Regions from separate parts of the Homo sapiens genome. Here all the other regions are linked to region 3. Evidence: promoter capture Hi-C in 16 types of primary human blood cells and fetal thymus (Javierre and others, 2016). All regions are on one chromosome and are shown on one strand. The core of a region is centred on a gene start or on the middle of the fragment in contact, and the rest is flanking DNA. Distances in the headings are between cores, read along the strand shown. Region 1 has its middle 1.9 kb from the start of ARL6IP5. Region 2 overlaps ATXN7 (ataxin 7). Region 3 holds the start of EDEM1 (ER degradation enhancing alpha-mannosidase like protein 1).

Region 1 (2,935 bases), core at 77-2,576, about 64 Mb after region 3:
AAAGCCTGATGGGTACTCAGTAAATGTAGCTGCTGTTACTACACTGTGATATTTAACCTCCTCTTGTCCTAGTTTTCAGTGAACCTTAAGGAAAGCTTGTCCTTTATGGTCCCCCAATTAGGTTCAGTTCAATAGCATTCACTGAGCTGAAAGTCAATGCCAGGCAGTGAGCGTGGGAATAGAGTTCACAGTCCCTATCAAGAGATACCAGCCTCCTTCTGCATCACATGTCTCAGCGTCAACTATGAAACTACTTTTTCTTGCCCAGACAACTCCACAGATGGTTTCACTGAGGATTTAACCTCAGTGCTTATCAAAATGGGCTCCTGTAGCCTGAACCCCCAACAATACTGGATACCCTTTGATTAGTGGTAGTGAGCATTGCAACCCTCTCAGATAGTGAAAAGCAGCAGTCACCTTAAAGGCCACCTAGTCCAGTCTCACCCATTTCACAGGGGAGGAAACTGAGGCCTAGGGATAGAGTACAGCTAGCCGATGAAGAAGTCTGCAAAGGTATCTGGCCCTGCATCTGCTTGCTTTGAGACTAACAGCCTGACTCACCATGGTGGTATTTTGATAAACGACACCAGGCACTCTCACTGGCTTAGATTGATTGACGGATTAGAAATAGCCATCTGCCCTTGCCAGGAATGAAAGCAACAGAGACATGCAAGCAAAACCTTCAACAGATTTATTTTACTTCAAATGGAACATATCATAAACAATTAGACTATCTGCTATGGTTTTTAAACAGACAGATAGTCTGAATGGTCCTATCTAGACACACCAGTCCCATTATAAAAGCCCCATCAAGCAGGGCTCGGCTTCCCACACCTGTAGTCCCGGCTACTTGGGAGGCTGAGGTGGGAGGACTGTTTGAGCCCAGGAGTTTAAAACCAGCCTGGGCAACATAGTGAGACCCTGTCTCTAAAAATAATAATAAATTAAAGCTCCAGAAAGACCTCTACAGTGAATCTGACCCCTCCCTCCCCGGAATGAACACTAACAAAGAGCTGCTACTAATAGCATTTCAAACAGTTACTGGAAAAAAGTAATGACTCATTACATGTTCATTTTTATTTAAAATAATTTAACAAAGGTAGAAATATTTAGAGAAAAAAAAAATCTCCCATACCCCAAAGAGAGAGACAGGGTTAACATTTTGGGAGGGAGACAGAAGGGAATCATGCTATAAACAGCTTTCTCTGTCTTTTCAGAATTTATTTATTTATGTTTAAACCTCTAAAGAGGTTTAATTCTTTCTTGGGTATCAATTGCCTGTGATCAAGGAGTAATCATATTGTTACTAATACACTCTTGACAGCTTTTGGTCATGCAGTTCTGAGCAGTTGGAAGATAAAGTTCTTAGTTACAGCTTCTAATACTCATAAATCTCACCAACAGTGTGGGGCCCCACTGGAGTTCCCACTCTCATCTTGACCAAGATGATTTACTCAGCTTGCCCACAGTGCTGCCTCTTGACATTCTGAAGCCCTGGGGAATTCCTCCACACCCTCTGACTTCCTGTAACTGAGCACTGAGGCTCAGTGCATCTCTATTTAGCACTCCTCTTACTGTCTCATATTTAACTAGTGTTTCCACTGGATTGCAGAAGTTTTGAAGGCAGAGCAGGATTACATTTTTCTCCTCTTTAAAAAAAAAAAGAAAAGAAAAGAAAAAAAACCCACAGTGCTTTCACAGAGCCTCAAAAGAACTCGAAATACTTGCTGGCATTGTACTGAATATTCTCAACCTTTTCCCCCTACCCAGATACATCCACAACAATAAAGTTGGAGCAAGGTAGAGAAAAGTTAGTAGATGTTTATAATGAAAGCATAGAAAACAAATCAGATTAAAGCACTATTAATAGCAAACAAGAATCGTGGGCTATCCTATTGCTAATAACAATAATAGTAACATATAACTGTGAACCTTTATTATACACTAAGCATTTCCTATACATTCCTTCACTTAGCCTCGTCTATATGGCAGATGTTCCATTATCCCCACTTTACACATGAAGACACCGAGGCTGGGAGAGATTAAGTAGTTTCTCCAAAGTCACCTGCCAGAGAGGAAGGAGCTGCGACTCTAATTTTGCTTTCTCTGACTTCACACCATCCCATTTTTCCAGAATCAAGAAAACATGAGCACTCAGGAATATTTTCACATTTTAAACTTTATTCAAAAAGCAGCACATAAGATATATCTTAGCACTAATTCCATGCAATCACCAAATTTTCCTAAACAACAGTAGTAGTAGTAATTTCTTAGAGTCGCTGTAAGCTCCTTAACTGTCTTCTGAATTAATAAGGAAAATTAAATTATGTTTTCTAGACTTTGCATTAGTATATTTCATTACTTTCCAAGTTTTCAAAAATTGGTGATCTGAGTAGAGTGAATTCACCTTGTCTAAGCCACTTAGGGGCTTAGAGACTCTGTTATCTTAGAAATCTTCACCTTAGAATTCTACCTATTACATTATACAATTAAACAAACTACTTTTTTTCTCATGCATTGTACCAATCAGCCCCTTAACTGAAAAAAGATGACCCTTGGAAGCTTAGAAGAGAATTGACAACGAATACTTCTTTTGCCAGGTCTTTGGGCTGGGATACAAAACATCACGTTATCTATGAATATATTGTGGTCCCTCAGTGAAAGCTGTCACCAAATATTGCAATAAAACTAAGAAAACTTTTGAAGTGGAATGCATATTTCTGCCCAGAAAATGCTGGATGCAGAACAACTAGTTCACTGCAGACAACTGTTTGCTTTAAAATGTAAGCAACATGCCCAGCTCAGGACTGAAGTGGCCAGAGTGCCTACTTTATCAGAATGGCATAGCAGTCCAACAATTTAGCCTAGAGAGAACAGAGGTGGAGAACAAAGAAGAGAAGTGAAAAAAACAGACCAGCCCTTCTGTTCTACATGA
Region 2 (3,016 bases), core at 367-2,866, about 59 Mb after region 3:
GTTTGTCAGGCCACATGTAATGCCTGTGTTCTTTTGACAGAAAGAGAGTTTGATCCTGACATCCACTGTGGGGTTATTGATCTCGACACCAAGAAGCCCTGCACCCGGTCTTTGACATGCAAGGTAGGTGGACTCCTGAAAGTCAAGTCGACCATCCTGATAAACATGGGTGACTGGGATGTACCACACTACTCCCACAGTCTCTCTAACCCAGAGAAGATGCTCTGTGGATTGTTGTGAATTGTGTAGGTGAAGGAATAACTTGGTTCTGTTGAAGAAAGCCTCAGATTGACAAAATGTGAAGTGCGTTGTTATAAATTATAATCTTGACAGAGGTTTTGTTTCTAATGAGCAGTGTTGTATCCACAGGAATAGTGTTCTCTCCCAGTCTGTTATTTTTAAAAACTTTTAATATTTCCATATAGGCTACCCTTGACTGTGCTTTAAATTATACTGGCTTAAAGCAAGTGCAGAAATTTCCCTTGCGTGTGTATGAACATTTAAAAAATGTGTCACCCATGGTCTTAAATTTTAAAGAACCACTTTTTAAAAAATCTGTGATTTTGAAATATCCCTGTTTTCTAGTTTAAAAAAAAAATACTGCAAGCCAGGCATGCCTGTAAGTCCCAGCTAGTGGGGAGGCTGAGGCAGAAGGATTGCTTGAGCCTAGGAGTTTGAGTCCAGCCTGGAGAACATTACGAGACCCATCTCTTTTAAGAGAAAAAAAAAACTAGATAAAATATATTAATAATTTATATACAAGCTAAGAAAATGTAATGGTCTTCCTTTTTGCTCTGGGGTCTTCCTTCTTTTAAAATGCCAGTATGCTAATAAGGTATATTTGCTGAAAAGTGTGGGTTATTGATGTGGGGTGGCTTCAGGTCATCAGTGAACACCTCTACATAAATGAGCTTGTATGTTGATGTGCATTTCTCTGGAGGGTGTCCCCAGCTACCCCCCAGATAGGTTCAAGAAGCATTCAGAGTCACTGCTTTGAAGTATGTAATTTTAAAACCTTAGAGGGAGGAAGTAAAAATGATAAAAGTTAGCATTTTCTTCTAAAAATTAATAAAATTGTTAGTGTTTTACTTTAAATTTTATTAAAGTGTATTTGAATAAAGGACTTCAGGCCCTGTCCCATGCCCCAGCCAGTGGAGGCATGTTACAGTCTTCTGGAGTGGGAAATTTTTAAGTGGTTCTTACTTTAAGCTTCTAATTTAATTTTAGTATATAGATTTTGTCTTACAACAGTGGTTCAGAACCTTTTTGGGGAAAAGGGTTGGTCAAGAGTACCTTTAAATATCTCATTTTTAAAAAAAAAAAACCACGGTCCATCTTCCGAGAATAAAATAGTGCATACACATACACATTCTGAATTTTTCTATCTTGGATTAATGGACACCCCCACCCCAAGCCCATCCTTGGATTTCTAGGTTAAAAACTCTCATAAAACAAACTGCTTTTTTTTTGTATAGGGTACTAATTGGACACACAGTGGTGTAGTGGTGGTGGTGTATGAAGATAGCCACCTGAGTTCTGTAGAATTATGTCAGTTTCAGCTGTCCCTAAGAGAATGTGTGAAAGCATGCCTCAGCCCTGTCCACATCATGATCACAACTTGCCATTCTCCTTCTGCGCTCTTCCTGCCTACCTGACTCTCAGTAACATGGATTTCTCAGTAATACAGTACCTGTGGGCAATGAGGTTTGCTTTTTTCAAACCCAAGATGTTCTTTTTCAGTCATTTACAAAGCGTGGCAGGGAACCACACCTTTAAGTGTGCAAGACAGTATTGTTGACTGTGAAAGAATATTATACAGCAGATGTCTAGAACTTGTTCATCTTGCTATAACTGAAACTTTATGCTCATTGATTAGTAACTCCTTATTTCGCTCTCCCTTCAGCCGCTGGCAGCCACCACTCTAGTTGTTGATTCTGTGAGTTTGATTATAGATCTCATATAAGTGGAATCATGCGGTGTTTAGTCATTATGTGACTGGGTTATTTATCTTAGTATAATGTCTTCAAGCTTACCTCATACTTGTTGTAGCATATTGCAGAATTTCCTTCTTTTTAAGGGCTGAATAGTATTCCAGTGTATGTATATACTATGTTGTCTTCATCCAGTCACCTGTTGACAGACATTTATATTGTTTCTACATCTTGTCTATTATAAATAATACTTCAGTGAACATAGGAGTTCTAATAGCTCTTTGAGATTCTGATTTCAGTTATTTTGGATAACTACCCAGAAGTGAGGTTGCCAAAAGTTTTTTTTCAACTCAAAATCTTCAAGGAGCTTGACTGGCATTCTTCCTGTGCCTTTATTGCTAGGTGGAGTGACTTTGAATGGGTCTGCATTTTTCTCACATCTTCCTTTTCAAATGATATATGCTCCCCTTGTCGTCCTTCTTTAAGGGTGTCATTACTCTCCGTGGCATTGGGCTAAGCCTGTCATTGCATTAATAAGTCTTGAGACCCAGCTTGTCATGAGATCAGCATAGAACTGGCAGAAAATGCAGCATCCACCAGGCCTGCCCTTTTACAGGATGACTTGACTTTTTTTCATTGTTTTGTCAGTTCTTTTCCTTTTCCTTGCCTTCACGTTGGTCTGAATCTATTAAGCTTGGTAGGGCTAAACATGCCTGCATGTCCCTACCCTGAGTGTTTCCCAAGTTGCTGCCAGGTCTCTTCTGTCTTAGACTTAGAACGTTATCTGTTCTCTTCACCGTCAGGGGATTTGCTGCTGTTCATTCCCATTACTCATTCTCTGTTGTCTGTCTCCCATCCTCACTGCCCCTCCTCACTTCTTCATCTGTCTAATATCCCGTCGAAAGTCCTCTGTGCCTTCCACGCGGAGAGATTTGTGACTCCTGTAGCCTTTGTCCATTCACTCATTGTAGAACTTTTTATTACGTACATCTGTGAGCACAGGCCTCACTCTTTCTAGGTCGCAGGGAATAAAGGGTTTAGCACAATAACCACGTGTTCCCTATGCTTGTGGTGCTTACAGTCTA
Region 3 (2,835 bases), core at 185-2,684:
GAACAAGGCTCAGCCAACAGTAAGGACCTTCCTATGTGCCAGCTACCATGTGCTGTAATCAAGTGTTTTCTTAGTTCCCCTTACACCTCCTCTGTATTTCAGAAAGTCCTCTACCCTGAAAATGTGATGAGAGTGCCACATGACAACTTACCTTCTTATGCACTCCATTGGTCGGCCATTCAGCCAATATCAGATTTGGGGGTCTAGTCAGGTCTTGCTTCCCAAGCTTTTCAGAAACCCTGATGAAACAGGCATAGGGTCTAAACTTAGGGAGGGCAAAACTTACAGCCAACTCCAAATGCAGCAAGCAAAATAAATAAGCGCCTAAACCATTGAATCTTTATGTGAAAGCCATAGCCCTTTAGAGCTAACATTTGCAATCTTCTTAATTATAGGAAGTAGATACAGAGGGGTAAAGTTATTTAACTGGGAATCTACCCCACACCTCAAAGGTTAGGTCACTAATTGCGGGTGCACAGGAGAGATGGTAGGATGGGAGGGACAGGAGAAGACATGTTTAGATATATCTGGTAAATAATTTGGTGGTGGTGGGAGCCTTCATTCCCACCCCCAACCCGCCCCCCCCTTTTAAAAAAATCCTATTTCCGAGACAAAAGCAATATAACATAACTTTGTATTTCCTGAAACTTCCAGTTTCTAAGAACTGTCCAAGAGTACTTACACGCACATTCCCGAGACCGTTGGAGTTGTTCGATAGGTCTAGGGAGGGATCTGGGGATACGTGTTTTACAAGCACCATGAGCGATTCTTCAAAGTTGGGTGTTTGAATCAAAAGAGCAGAATTCATGATACCGTTTTGTGCACTCCTTGAGCTAAAAGGTAGTATCCCACCCTCTCCATAAACAGACACCTAAGTTATAAAACTTATGCGCTCGATATGCAAAAATAGCTCGTTTTATACAGAAACGATCCTTTCCTTCTTTTCCTTATATATCTTTTAACTGTCATCACTCCTAACCTAGACCTAGAGTGGCTTTTTCCGGTCCTAGCTCTGCCGGACACACGCTCTGCCCAGAGACCCGATCCACCCAAGGCCAGGCGGTCTGGGGTCACGTCTGTGTCCAGCGTCCGGCGGGCGCTGCCGTGCCGCTCTCCCATTGGCTGGAAGTTCCCTCGCGGGCCGGCGCGGCTCCTGCTCGCCACGCCAGCCCATCGGGCTACGGACCGCCCAGGGGGGCGGGGCTTGGGAGTTGGGGCGGGGCCCGGGTGAGGGGCGGGGCCTCGGGGCGTCGCGGACGTCCTGGCGGCCTACTGCGTGGGAGGGAGTCCTGGGCCGCGCCCCGCGAGGCCGGGCCCAGGCCGGGCCAATCCCGGGCCACTGGGCGGGCGACCGTGGGGCCTGGCCGGCCCGCCGGAGAGCCTGGGGGTTGGGGACGATGGGCTAGTTCCTGGTGCGTCACGGGGGAGTTCCTTAAAGGGGAAGCGAGCCGGGCTACGGGGCGAGCGCGGGGTGCGGTGGTCGGCGGGGAGGCCCCCGCGCTTTAAAATAATGCCCGCGGCGCCCGCGCGACCATGCAATGGCGAGCGCTCGTCCTGGGGCTGGTGCTCCTCCGGCTTGGCCTCCATGGAGTATTGTGGCTCGTCTTCGGGCTGGGGCCCAGCATGGGCTTCTACCAGCGCTTTCCGCTCAGCTTCGGCTTCCAGCGTCTGAGGAGCCCCGACGGCCCCGCGTCGCCCACCTCGGGGCCCGTGGGCCGGCCTGGGGGGGTATCCGGGCCGTCGTGGCTGCAGCCGCCGGGGACCGGGGCAGCGCAGAGCCCGCGCAAGGCTCCGCGGCGTCCTGGGCCGGGGATGTGCGGCCCAGCCAACTGGGGCTACGTGCTGGGCGGCCGGGGCCGCGGCCCGGACGAGTACGAGAAGCGCTACAGCGGCGCCTTCCCTCCGCAGCTGCGTGCCCAGATGCGCGACCTGGCACGGGGCATGTTCGTCTTTGGCTACGACAACTACATGGCTCACGCCTTCCCCCAGGACGAGCTCAACCCCATCCACTGCCGCGGCCGTGGGCCCGACCGCGGGGACCCGTGAGTAGCCCCCGCCGCCCGGGGCCGCGCGCCCACGCGCTTCCTTCCGCCCTCCGCGCCGGGGTGCAGCCCTCTGTCCTCCGGGGCCCCCGAGGGCGCCAGGGCCGTTAGGGTCCCGGGCAGCGCTCCCGCGCCCTGTCCCGTGTGAGTCCCTGTGAAGACCCCCGAGCTTGAGGGTGCGGGGTGGGCCGGTGGCCTTCCTCTCCTGATTCTCCCGGAATCTCCAAACTTCAGAACTGCTGTCCAGCTCAGTGTCTTACGCGTGAGGATACTGAGGTCCAGGACCAGAAGGGACAGTGGCAGTGCCAAGGGCTGGCTTGGAGGGCTTTCCACTTCCATCCGACCCCTTCCTCCGGATGAGCATAAACTCTAAATGAAATCTCCATCATGCCCCCCGTGTAAACGCAGCCTCAGAACAAGCCTTTACCTCGCACCCCCACCTCTATCACATTGCCACACCCACGTCTTTTCTATGTAAAAAGCCTATAGTTGACTTCTCCAAAGCCGTCCATTGAGTTTGAGGCAGAACGGGGTTACAGCCTCTCCTTCACAGGGGCTGCTTCTTAGGCTGAGGATAGTTAGGTGGTGGGGAGGGAAGCTATGTGGCCCACTTTTGGGGTCCAGATACTTGAGGTGAAATTCACTGGATGCCAGATTGACTGTCAACGTCATCGCCCTGTACGATCTGTCTATAAATCCCCCGCCTCTGGTGGCGTGGTTGTCCGGGAAGGTCAGGCAGTCTTCCCTGTTCACCAGCCTTGTTTGCAAAGGCTGAGCTCCAAGGGTCACCACT

Evidence for each region. The method cuts DNA at HindIII sites, captures the fragments that hold promoters and counts their contacts. A CHiCAGO score of 5 or more calls a contact.
Region 1: a contact is called between a fragment that was not itself captured here and the fragment with the promoter of EDEM1 in region 3, in 1 of 17 cell types (non-activated CD4 T cells). The highest score is 8.3, in non-activated CD4 T cells.
Region 2: a contact is called between a fragment that was not itself captured here and the fragment with the promoter of EDEM1 in region 3, in 1 of 17 cell types (non-activated CD4 T cells). The highest score is 5.1, in non-activated CD4 T cells.

Annotation. Positions count from the first base shown.
Region 1 is chr3:69,081,531-69,084,465 of GRCh38, forward strand. No RefSeq gene overlaps it. Among named protein-coding and RNA genes, the nearest start is that of ARL6IP5, 1.9 kb to the right of the region's middle. RefSeq lists enhancers at 547-606, 1,411-1,570. The HindIII fragment of the contact is 2,467 bases long and covers 94-2,560 here.
Region 2 is chr3:63,982,899-63,985,914 of GRCh38, forward strand. It overlaps ATXN7 (ataxin 7), which reads left to right. Exons shown (of 13, transcript NM_001377405.1): 8 at 41-123. Among named protein-coding and RNA genes, the nearest start is that of PSMD6-AS2, 20 kb to the right of the region's middle. The HindIII fragment of the contact is 819 bases long and covers 1,208-2,026 here.
Region 3 is chr3:5,186,273-5,189,107 of GRCh38, forward strand. EDEM1 (ER degradation enhancing alpha-mannosidase like protein 1) reads left to right here and starts at 1,435. Exons shown (of 12, transcript NM_014674.3): 1 at 1,435-2,042. The coding sequence starts at 1,534. RefSeq lists silencers at 1,064-1,473, 1,714-1,883, 1,934-2,223 and an enhancer at 2,374-2,423. The HindIII fragment of the contact is 7,598 bases long and covers 225-2,835 here.